3 separate regions of the Homo sapiens genome follow, and all the other regions are linked to region 2. Evidence: promoter capture Hi-C in human tissues and cell types (Jung and others, 2019). All regions are on one chromosome and are shown on one strand. Each heading gives the region's core, a stretch centred on a gene start or on the middle of the fragment in contact. The rest is flanking DNA. Distances are from core to core; before and after follow the strand shown.

What was found. Contacts are between HindIII fragments. The study calls those that stand out against the background at their distance.
Region 1: a contact is called between a fragment that was not itself captured here and the fragment with the promoter of SDCBP in region 2, in 1 of the 25 tissues and cell types used here (stomach).
Region 3: a contact is called between a fragment that was not itself captured here and the fragment with the promoter of SDCBP in region 2, in 1 of the 25 tissues and cell types used here (hippocampus).

Annotation. Positions count from the first base shown.
Region 1 is chr8:58,504,294-58,507,367 of GRCh38, forward strand. No RefSeq gene overlaps it. Among named protein-coding and RNA genes, the nearest start is that of CYP7A1, 5.7 kb to the left of the region's middle. The HindIII fragment of the contact is 5,298 bases long and covers 1-3,074 here.
Region 2 is chr8:58,551,496-58,554,656 of GRCh38, forward strand. SDCBP (syndecan binding protein) reads left to right here and starts at 1,766. Exons shown (of 9, transcript NM_005625.4): 1 at 1,766-1,808. RefSeq lists enhancers at 1,339-1,518, 1,425-2,142 and a silencer at 1,619-2,148. The HindIII fragment of the contact is 17,033 bases long and covers 1-3,161 here.
Region 3 is chr8:58,608,146-58,611,436 of GRCh38, forward strand. It overlaps NSMAF (neutral sphingomyelinase activation associated factor), which reads right to left. Exons shown (of 31, transcript NM_003580.4): 10 at 1,459-1,588. Among named protein-coding and RNA genes, the nearest start is that of NSMAF, 50 kb to the right of the region's middle. The HindIII fragment of the contact is 5,427 bases long and covers 1-3,291 here.

The DNA.
Region 1 (3,074 bases), core at 314-2,813, 47 kb before region 2:
AAAAAACTGTGAAATATATTCACAACCCTCCTCACCCCCTCTCAGAACATCACAAGCTCCTTTCAAATGTAGATTGGTCAGTGTTTATCTAGATTTCCTTTACCCTAATATTTTTACTCCCACACTTACAACCCCTCTTCTATACAACAAAAGCACAGGAAACATACACACCCAGAAAAGCAGAGTCTTAAATATTCATATTTATTCATTTTTCTTATTATACGTAGTTTATGTTTTTCCTTCTCAGGATGTCACTTCTTGCTGCTGTCATGTGTCCACAAATGGTACTTATCACAGCCCAAATGTGCTGCTTTTAATCCAACAGGTGGAAATTCATATGCTTGTTACAGCTGTCAAAACTATTAATAGACTGTAAGGAAATACTAAAAGATTTCCTGATGAGTGAATGGATTTTATGACAACTGGATGTGTTTTTAGCACAGCGCCTGGTGCATCAGTTATTGAATGAATGCTAGCTCAATGGCACGTCCTTTGCCTGCTTTTCTCTTCTCTTTTTTTCGGCTGGTAAAGTTTTATTTATTCTCTTTCTCTATGTCTCTGTCTCACCATCTTTCTCTCTGTGTGTCTCTCTTGTTTCTCTGTCTCTCTCTGTGTCTCACTCTCTCTGTCTCTCTCTGTCTGTGTCACACACACACACACACACACACACACATGCTGTACCTCTACTACATGCCAGGCTCTGAGTCAGCAGTGGAGACAATGTGAGCAAGAAAGCCCTGAGCCCTGGCCCTGTGGAGTTTCCACTGCGTCAGGAGAAAGCGTAAGTGCCCTGACAAAGAAAAGAGGTAAAGTTGCCAGAAAACCTGGCAAAATAAACTGAGTTCTAATAATAAACTAAATTCTAATCCCACCACAACCTGTTAGTTTCCTCTTGTTTACATAGAGTAGTGAAGAGGACCACACTTCCTAAAGTGTGGAAGAAATACTTATTCCGGGCCTCAGAAAATATAAAGCCTGAATCAAATATCTCAACCCCATGAATGGAAATATACAAAACATAGAAGCTCAAACCAGAGGAGTAGAATGTAAAAAGAACAACTAAAACTATGAGCTTATGTAAACCCACTATGGTTCAATGAACATAGAACACACACATCAGTTTGATTGCTTTAAATAAAATGAACTGAGAACATGGCCAAAAAATTGAGTCAAACCAGTTGCTTTCCTGAATTCACAAGTTAAACCACCTCTCTGTAGTGGGACACAGATTGCCTCAATTAAGAAAGCACTTTGCATTTTCCAAGAGCATCACAGAGCTGTACTGAATCAAGACTGTATATGAGGTTTCTAAGTCAGGGCAAAGTAATGGGAGTCTATTGTGGAATGGGCTGGTGAAGTCTTGTCGTGATTAATTTGGGGCTTTCATAATAAACACATTCGAGCCACATTTTCATGAAGCCATAGGGAAAGAAACCAGTTATGGCAAATACAAATATAGTTTTGCATCTTAAATACATGGTTTTGAGATTGTAAATGCCTAGCAGGAGTAGAGAAAAAGAAGGTGTTGACAAATTCTAAAGGAATCATCATAATTTTTACATTCATTTTGAGGTTTTCACATTTTAAAAGCTTCTCTTGTATTTTTCTACTTTAATGAAATAACTAACTTGGGCAGGACAGGTATTTTGACCATGTTAAAGATGAGGAAGTAGAGGCAAGAAGGTTCAGTGGGAAATATTACATAGCTTGAATTAGTTCGAATGGTAGATGAAGAGGAAGCTGCAATTAAATCTAGATTTGCATGTTGGCTTGGCCATTAAGTATTTACCTTTGAACAAGATGCTTTTCCTCTCCAAGTCTTTGCTTTCTTATCTGTAAAATGGGGATGATTATAGTGCATGACTCATAGATATTAAGACGAAATAAGACAATGTGTGTAAGACAGTTAGCCTAGCACTTGGCACAATGTATGCTCAAAAATGTTTGCTATAGTTAATAAACTGGCAAATCCAGGATTCAAGCCCAGATTGCTCTGAATTGAAGTGTGATAGTCCACCTTTACAGCACAGTACCTCACAAGAAGTACAGGGGATTCAAAGGCCATCTGACTACAGGTTTAGGAAAGGGTAAACACACCACCAACTGGGTATGAATAAATCATATGCATTTCATTCATTCATTCATATGAACTTAATATGTACCTTATGCAAGGCACCTTTTAAGTGCTGGAGATGCAGAGATAAATAAGACAGGCAAAGTCGCTGCCCTCTAGGGGACATAGCTAATCAACAGGAGAACAAATATATTGATTTGATTTCTGACAACAAGAAACCACCATTTTTTACTATCAGAAAAAGTCTGACCAATGCATCAATATTCAGTGTCAAGATCATCAAAAACTTGCTTCATTTAATCCACAGGGTAGCACCATGAAGCAGGCACTGTTGCCTCAATGTACAGATGACTGAATATGGTGAAGCTCTGGCTTCAGGCCCAGGGCAGCCCCTACTATGCGGTGCTGTAGCACAGGAAGAACTCCATTCATCCAAGTTAAAGACAGGCTTGGGGGCCTGGAATCAAAGAAGGCTAAGTGGTTCCTTTACTTTTGTGATAAGTTTCATCCCAGTCTCAGCCTTCTGAAACTTAGTCCAAGAAGCCCAACTGGTTCATCAGACTTGCTGCGACCAATTAACCTTGCCAGCTCAGGGAGAGAGAGAGATAGAGAAGAGGGCAGTCAGGGGGAGGGAGAGAAAGAGGGAGAGAGAGAAAGATAGTGGAGCTTTTTTCCTGAATGTGAGCAATCCTGGCTCCTTTTATCTCTCCGATGTCATGGACATATTTCCAAAAGGACATATTGAAGGAAACCAAATCTTGAGCCATTGAGGAAGCTGGTCTTGTCTTCTCAGGCCAGCACAGGGCAGTTCATTAGCTGGGGTACTATTTTCACTTTCCTGACTTTCCCTAGCTCCTAGGAGGAAGGCTGAGGTTCTTAGACATGGAGCACAGAGAGAGTAGAACAAACCTCTGTATGTTAATGGCCCTGGAGATGTTCTTCAACTGGATCACTTGCTGAAGTACTATTTTCCCCTGCAGATAATGAGATGAGAAAGAAG
Region 2 (3,161 bases), core at 516-3,015:
GCTCTTCTGGTCTTTCATTTTTCCATATAAACTTGAGAATCAGTTAATATCCACAAAATAACTTGCTGGGATTTTGATTGATTTGATTTGATTGTATCAAATCTATAGATTAAGTTGGGCAGAACTGACAGTTAAATATCAAGTACTCCTATCCATGAAAATGGAATATCTTTAAATTTATTTAGATCTCCTTTGAACTTTGTAGTTTTTCTCATTGGAAGTTTTTTTTATTTAGAATTTTGTAGTTTTTCTTGTATAAACCTTTTACATATTTTGTTAGATTTATACCTAAATATTTCATTTTATTTTGGTGCTAATGTCAGTGGTTATTGTTTTTAATTTCAAATACCAATTGTTTATTGATGGTATATAAGAAAACAACAGACCATGTATGCAGGTCGACTATTCCTAGTACAGAAATCCAAAATATGAACTACTCTAAAATATGAAACTTTTTGAGTGCTGACATGAGGACCAAGGGAAATGTTCACTGGAACATTTTGAGTTTTGGAGTAGGGATGGTAAACCCATAAGTATATAATGCAAATATTACAAAAGCAAAAAAAAAAAAAATCCAAAATTGGAAACATTTCTGGTCCCAAGCATTTTGGCTTAGAATGAGCCTGTTTTAAACTTGCTCATGCAAACTTGCTATAATTGCTTTTCATTCTGTTTTTTTAGGCGAGGAGTGTCAATTTTTTCCGGATTTTCTATGTTAGATAACCATCTCATCTGAAAGCAAAAAGTTTTATTTCTTCCTTCCCAATCTACCTTGTAATTATTTTTAAATGTCCATTTCATCAGCCTAACTATAACCTTACTGAGAGCAAAGTTTTCATCTTTAGTTGTCACCTCTTTTACACTCAGATTTTTATTAGTTTTGCCATATATTAAATTATTCTGGCACTAATTTAGCTAGAAATAAACTGCTTGTAAATGCTATTTTGTCAAGGACTCTACAGTATTCCGTGGTAACTATGATTACTCTTGGGTAAACTGTGCCTCAGTTTCTTTGTCTGTAATGGGATGTCTTTATAGACTGATGTGAAGACCAAATAAGACTATACATTAAGTTCGTAGAGCTATGGCTGGCACAAAATCAGCCCTCAAGAAATGATCGTTATGTTTTTTTACTGGGAAGCAATTACTTTTGCGCAGCACCACACCTAACTCTCAATAGCGAAGGAATATTAGCTTAGGCGGACAGAGTAATACGCCCCCCACCCCCAACATCCAAATTTCCAACAGAAAAATAAAGCAGGAGTTGAGAAGGGGTCGTGAGAGGAACGTTTCTGAGCCTATAGTGGAGAGGTACAGCAAGCGGAGAGTGAGACTAGGGCAGCAAGTGGTGGAAGTCGAAGGCATCCCAAGAGGGAACAGGGGCTCCCGAGACCTCTTTGAATTGGAGGCGACGAGAACCAAGCGACCGTGAGCTGCGATGCACACAGTAGTGAGTGGGTGGCACGGGGCCCGCGGGCACGAACAGCCGAAGAGCGGAGAAGACTGGGAGCATAACCGCTGGGCAGCGGGCAGCGGACAGCGGGCGGCATGAACCGCCCCACTTTGCCGGATACCTGGAGCTGCAGGAACGACCCACACCCAGGCCTCTTTACCCCTACCGCCCCGTTACCTTGGGGACGGGATCACCCGACCCGGCGCCGTGCGACTGCGCGGGCTGAAGGCGGGGGCGGTGCCATGACGCGCCTCGGGGGCGGTCCTCGGGCGCGCACCGCTCTCTTACACTCGGGCCTCAGAAGTCCGTGCCAGTGACCGGAGGCGGCGGCGGCGAGCGGTTCCTTGTGGGCTAGGTGAGAGGCCAAGGGGGCAAGGAGGGACGCCGGTGCCAGGTCCCGGGCGCGGGGACTTGGGGCAGAGGTGTGACGGTCCCTGGGCCACTTCACAGACTGCATCCTGGTCGCAGCCGTTTTCGCGAGGCAGCGGCGACGCCCTCTCCTCAGGGGGCTCCGCGCCCCTCCCTGCGCCCTGCTGGCTGGGGGGGCAAGTTTGCGGGAGCAGCGCGCTCTTCCTGCCGCGACCCCGCGCGTTTCGGGTTCCTGCCCGGGCTGGGGCTGGGGCTGGGGCTGGGGCTGGGGCTGGCAGAGCCCGGAGGCCCGGCTGGGTGAACGCCTTCAGCCCCCGCCCCAGCTCTGGGGTTCTTCCTGGGACCGTCTCTCGATCCTTGTTTTCTCCTCGATAAGATCTCGACATAAGAAAGAGCCTCTGGCCACGGTTCCTCCCAGTGCTCGGCGTTTCTAGGGCTGTGCTTAATCGCCCTTCTTTTGGGTTATTCGGAAAGTCCTGGATTTGAAAGGAGGAAGGAAGTGTTTGTTTATTGGGCGAAGCCTTGACTTTTTTGGAAGGGGGTGGGGAGAGGTTGTTCGCTTTGAGCTTTTTCCTGGAGAAGTTGGACCTGAGGGAGAAACGTTTCCAGTAGGGTGTGTTTAGAAGGAAATACCCCTGAGATCTGACCCCTGAGATATGATGACTCAGAGCCTTCCTTTCAGGATTTCCTTGTAATAATGGGAAAGGGAAGGCATATGGATGTGGAAAGTTTTCACTTTTACCAAAGTGGTGATTATTGAGTCATGGAGTCTTCTAATGTGTCCATTTTTGAAAGGAGTTTGTAGATTATCTAGTCTGTATAACCACATACACATTTACTGTTATCTTTTCCATTACGTACATTGCTTAGAAAGTACGCTCGGCTTACCAAACTCTTAACATCCGCTTGTTTCAAAAAGAAATCGTTGATTAAAGCAGGAAATTTACCTTGAAAAACAACTGCGGGCCTTTTAAATTAAATTGATTTCTAAATGTGTATGTGATTAGTTAAAACTCAAATTTGTTCAGTCTTTTTATTTTCCTGTTTAAGATTGAGGGATAACGGTAGAAAATACGTCCTTTTGTCTTCTGTGTTACCAACTTAATTCTATAAAATTTGTGCCTTAAATGGTACATAAATATTATAAATCTAGTGGTTTGTGGCACAGAATAAAAAGAAGTAGAATGACTTTTAAAATGGTCAGTAAATAGTCACTCCATTATAAATTAAATTTAACTTTGGAGACATTAACTTTTAGTTTTGGGCATTATAGGAAAAGATGTAAAAAGGGGAAAAAGATGAACAAAAGGGGAAGAATTTGCTAATGGTTGCCGGTTAA
Region 3 (3,291 bases), core at 446-2,945, 57 kb after region 2:
TTGTGGGGTGATAAGAAATATAAAGAACTGGCATAAATAACCTCTCAGGAATCTTGCTATCTTTTTTTAGACAAATAGTTTGCTTAGTACTGACACACATCTTTTTTAAAGAATCCTGTCTTTTATCTCATTAAAAATTACAGTGTATTAAGGCTCACAGATTACTAAAGTATAAAGCAAGGCCTCTGAATTTTTTCTTTGTTAATGAAGAAGAAAATTGTCTTGCTTTTCTATAATTTTAAAACACTAGTAAGAGAGAAAGGAGGTTTAAAAAGGCAGAGATTGGCTAATGGCTATGCTTCCGTGGTCCTCCTCCCAAGTAGGAGGGAAGATGGGTGTGCAGAGGTCAGTCTGTCCAACAGTGGAAACTGCCCCGGAGTCCCAGAGTCAGGTCTTGGAAATGACTGGTCAAGGATCCTGGCCAGTATTGGGAAGGGGTAAAGGCCCATACCATGGATTGTGAAGCTAGGGTACACAGACATTTTTTCTCAAAATTTCTGACCCAAGCAATAGTAGCAGCCAAGCCAATTTTTTACACTCCCTGAGAATGCTGTGCTAGCAGCATGCAGTGTCTACTGGAGAACTAGGAAAGTGAGCCCCACCACCTAGTGGACACAATCACTATAGCATAATCTTTCACTCAGGAGAGTTTGAGATGTTTTAGTGCCCTGTAATGACCAGCCTGGAGAATTTCCAAGGTGGAACTTTCTCTGGCAGAATTCTTGGGCCCTGCCAAATGGCCCCACAGCACTACCAGGGTGTGTTAGGATTTCTGTTCTTTTAATGGATCATGCTAAAAAGTGGCCAGATCTAGATAAGCAACAAATCTTTACAAGTTTCAGCATGGATATCTAAGTTTATATTTATTTTCTGGCCTTGTAAGTCTGTGTCATTGTGAAAGAGAAGATTGTTTCCAACATCCTAGCAGGAGCCCATAACTGCCAGACGGCAGGATCTCCACACACACCTCTGCACTAGCTGGGAGGACCTGCTCATAGTGCTCCTTCAGGAAAAATTCAGATCTACTGAGGTTGTTCATCATTAAGAAGAAGCAAGAAATACCAACATCTGTGTATATATAAGCAAATATATTTCAAAATCTATTTCTTATTAATCATAGTATATTTCACTGGTCTCTAGGAAATGCCTCCTAGAAGAAAGGTCTAAATCTCTAGCGACCCTTTACTAAAATAGGGAGGAGCAGGGTTTCTTTTCACCACACTGAGAGCAAGTGCCCCTGACATGACTGAAAACAGATCAGAAGAACTCAAACTTCAGAGACTACACATCACGATTACACACGGTGTTTGTAAAATACACAGATGCTGCCTGTGAAGGGGGTGGGCAGGGACATGACTTGATCCTCATCAAAAAGTGAGGTCCCTGGCATTGTGAGGCCATGGTCTGGAAACAGCTTAAACATGGGCAGCTCCCCACCTGACCCTGTGGTCTACACACCGGGTAGCCGTTGAGGGGCTGAAAATACAGGTTTGTGTCCGTGATGCACACGTGTCCAGGATTAGTCACCAGAGGCGTCACCATTTCTGCTTTGCATTCCATGTGCAGCTTTTCAGAAATGTTTTGGAACCTGAAAATAGGTTTTTCAGCAAAAGTAAGAAAAATCAGAAATTGATCTACTTTCTAGGTTTATCTAAGGGAGCTACAGTGTGACTTTCTATGACATTTGTCTAAACACTACATTTAATATAAGAAAAATGGTAATATAAATTGATTGCTTAGATAAAACTGACTCTTTAGAAATGGCATGATAAAAACTCATTTTTCAAAGAAATAGGTGAGATTATCTACCACAGAAGCCATGACAGACAAGTAAATAATACCAAATAACCCTTAGCTAAACTCATTCCCCCCAAAATAAATAGGCCTTGAAACTATTCTTACATTTAAATTATTTCCTATTTTTCTGTCATTATTTTTATCATCCTATAAACCATTTTGACACAAGTGGCATTTATTTCACACTACACTTTATAAGGCTCTGACTACATAATTATAATTACTTGAATTATAATACATTTGAGTAACTGTATATTCCTTTGTATATTTTTGAGTATATCCCTCTGTGAATTTACTGCAGAAAACCTCTGAAAAATGATCTCTTCACTACTCACTCCTAAAATATTTAATCAACAAAGTCCCTTCTCATTCTGCTTTAACTGATTTAAGAAAAAATAAGGGAAAACAACCAAATCATCAACATTTTAAGGCAATTACTGAAATAACTGGGTTAAAAATAAATCTCTTTATAAGTGACAGGACAAAAAGATACAGAGGAAGATCTCCACCTCAAGTTAGGATGGGAAAGCTGTAAGAGACTGTTGAAGCTTTCACCCTAACAACCAAAATGAGCTGGATATACTGAACAATCTTCATAGCTTTTTAAAACCGACTGGAATGTTGAGCATGTAAAGCAACCTAAATGAACATGATTGCAAAAAGGAAAGAAGAGATCAACAGGTGAGTGGCAGGAGGAGGAGCAACCTATGATAGAAGTGAGTAAGGGCTGCAGAATGAAGAGAGATCTTCAGGGAAATGGAAAGCCAGAGTTGAGACTGGAGAGCAAAGAAAGCTCCCCAGAGATCCAAAAATGCTGTCGACTGAGGTGCAAAACAAGGGAAATCTCCCACAGTTCAGAAACCCGATGGCTCAGTTATAAAGCACAAAGATATCTCTAGAATCCTTCAAGTGCTGAGATCCCAAGTCCTGTGGAAGAGAAAGTCTTTATCACTCCCTCAATAGAGTTGTAGGCAGTGTTGGCTTAAATTTAACCACAGGTGCAACAAAGTCTTAATGCAGCTCAGTGACAGATTTGATTGACAGAGCCTCCCTGTACAAGTAGCCTGACAGAATAAGAGGTGGCTTGACCACTTCTGGAGGTAAATATTATTTAGTTCGGTCTCAACACTTCCTTTTTAACAAACTGCTCAATAAAAAAATTACAATACAATAAAATTATAATGCATAACAAAGAAGCAAGAAAATATGACTCATGCTCAAGAGAGAAAAGACTCTATAGAAGGTGTGTCAGACATTGGATCAATCAGAGGAAGACTTTAAGATAACTATAGTAAATATGATAAAGGATCAAGAACAGTCTAGGCATGTTGGCTCACACCTGTAATCCCAGCACTTTGAGAGGCCAAAGCAAGAGGATCACTTAAGCCCAAGAGTTTGAGACCAGCTGGGTAACATACTGAGATACCATCTCTACAAAAAATAAAAAATTAGCCAGGCATGGTGGCATGTGCCTGTGGTCCCAGCTACTCAGGA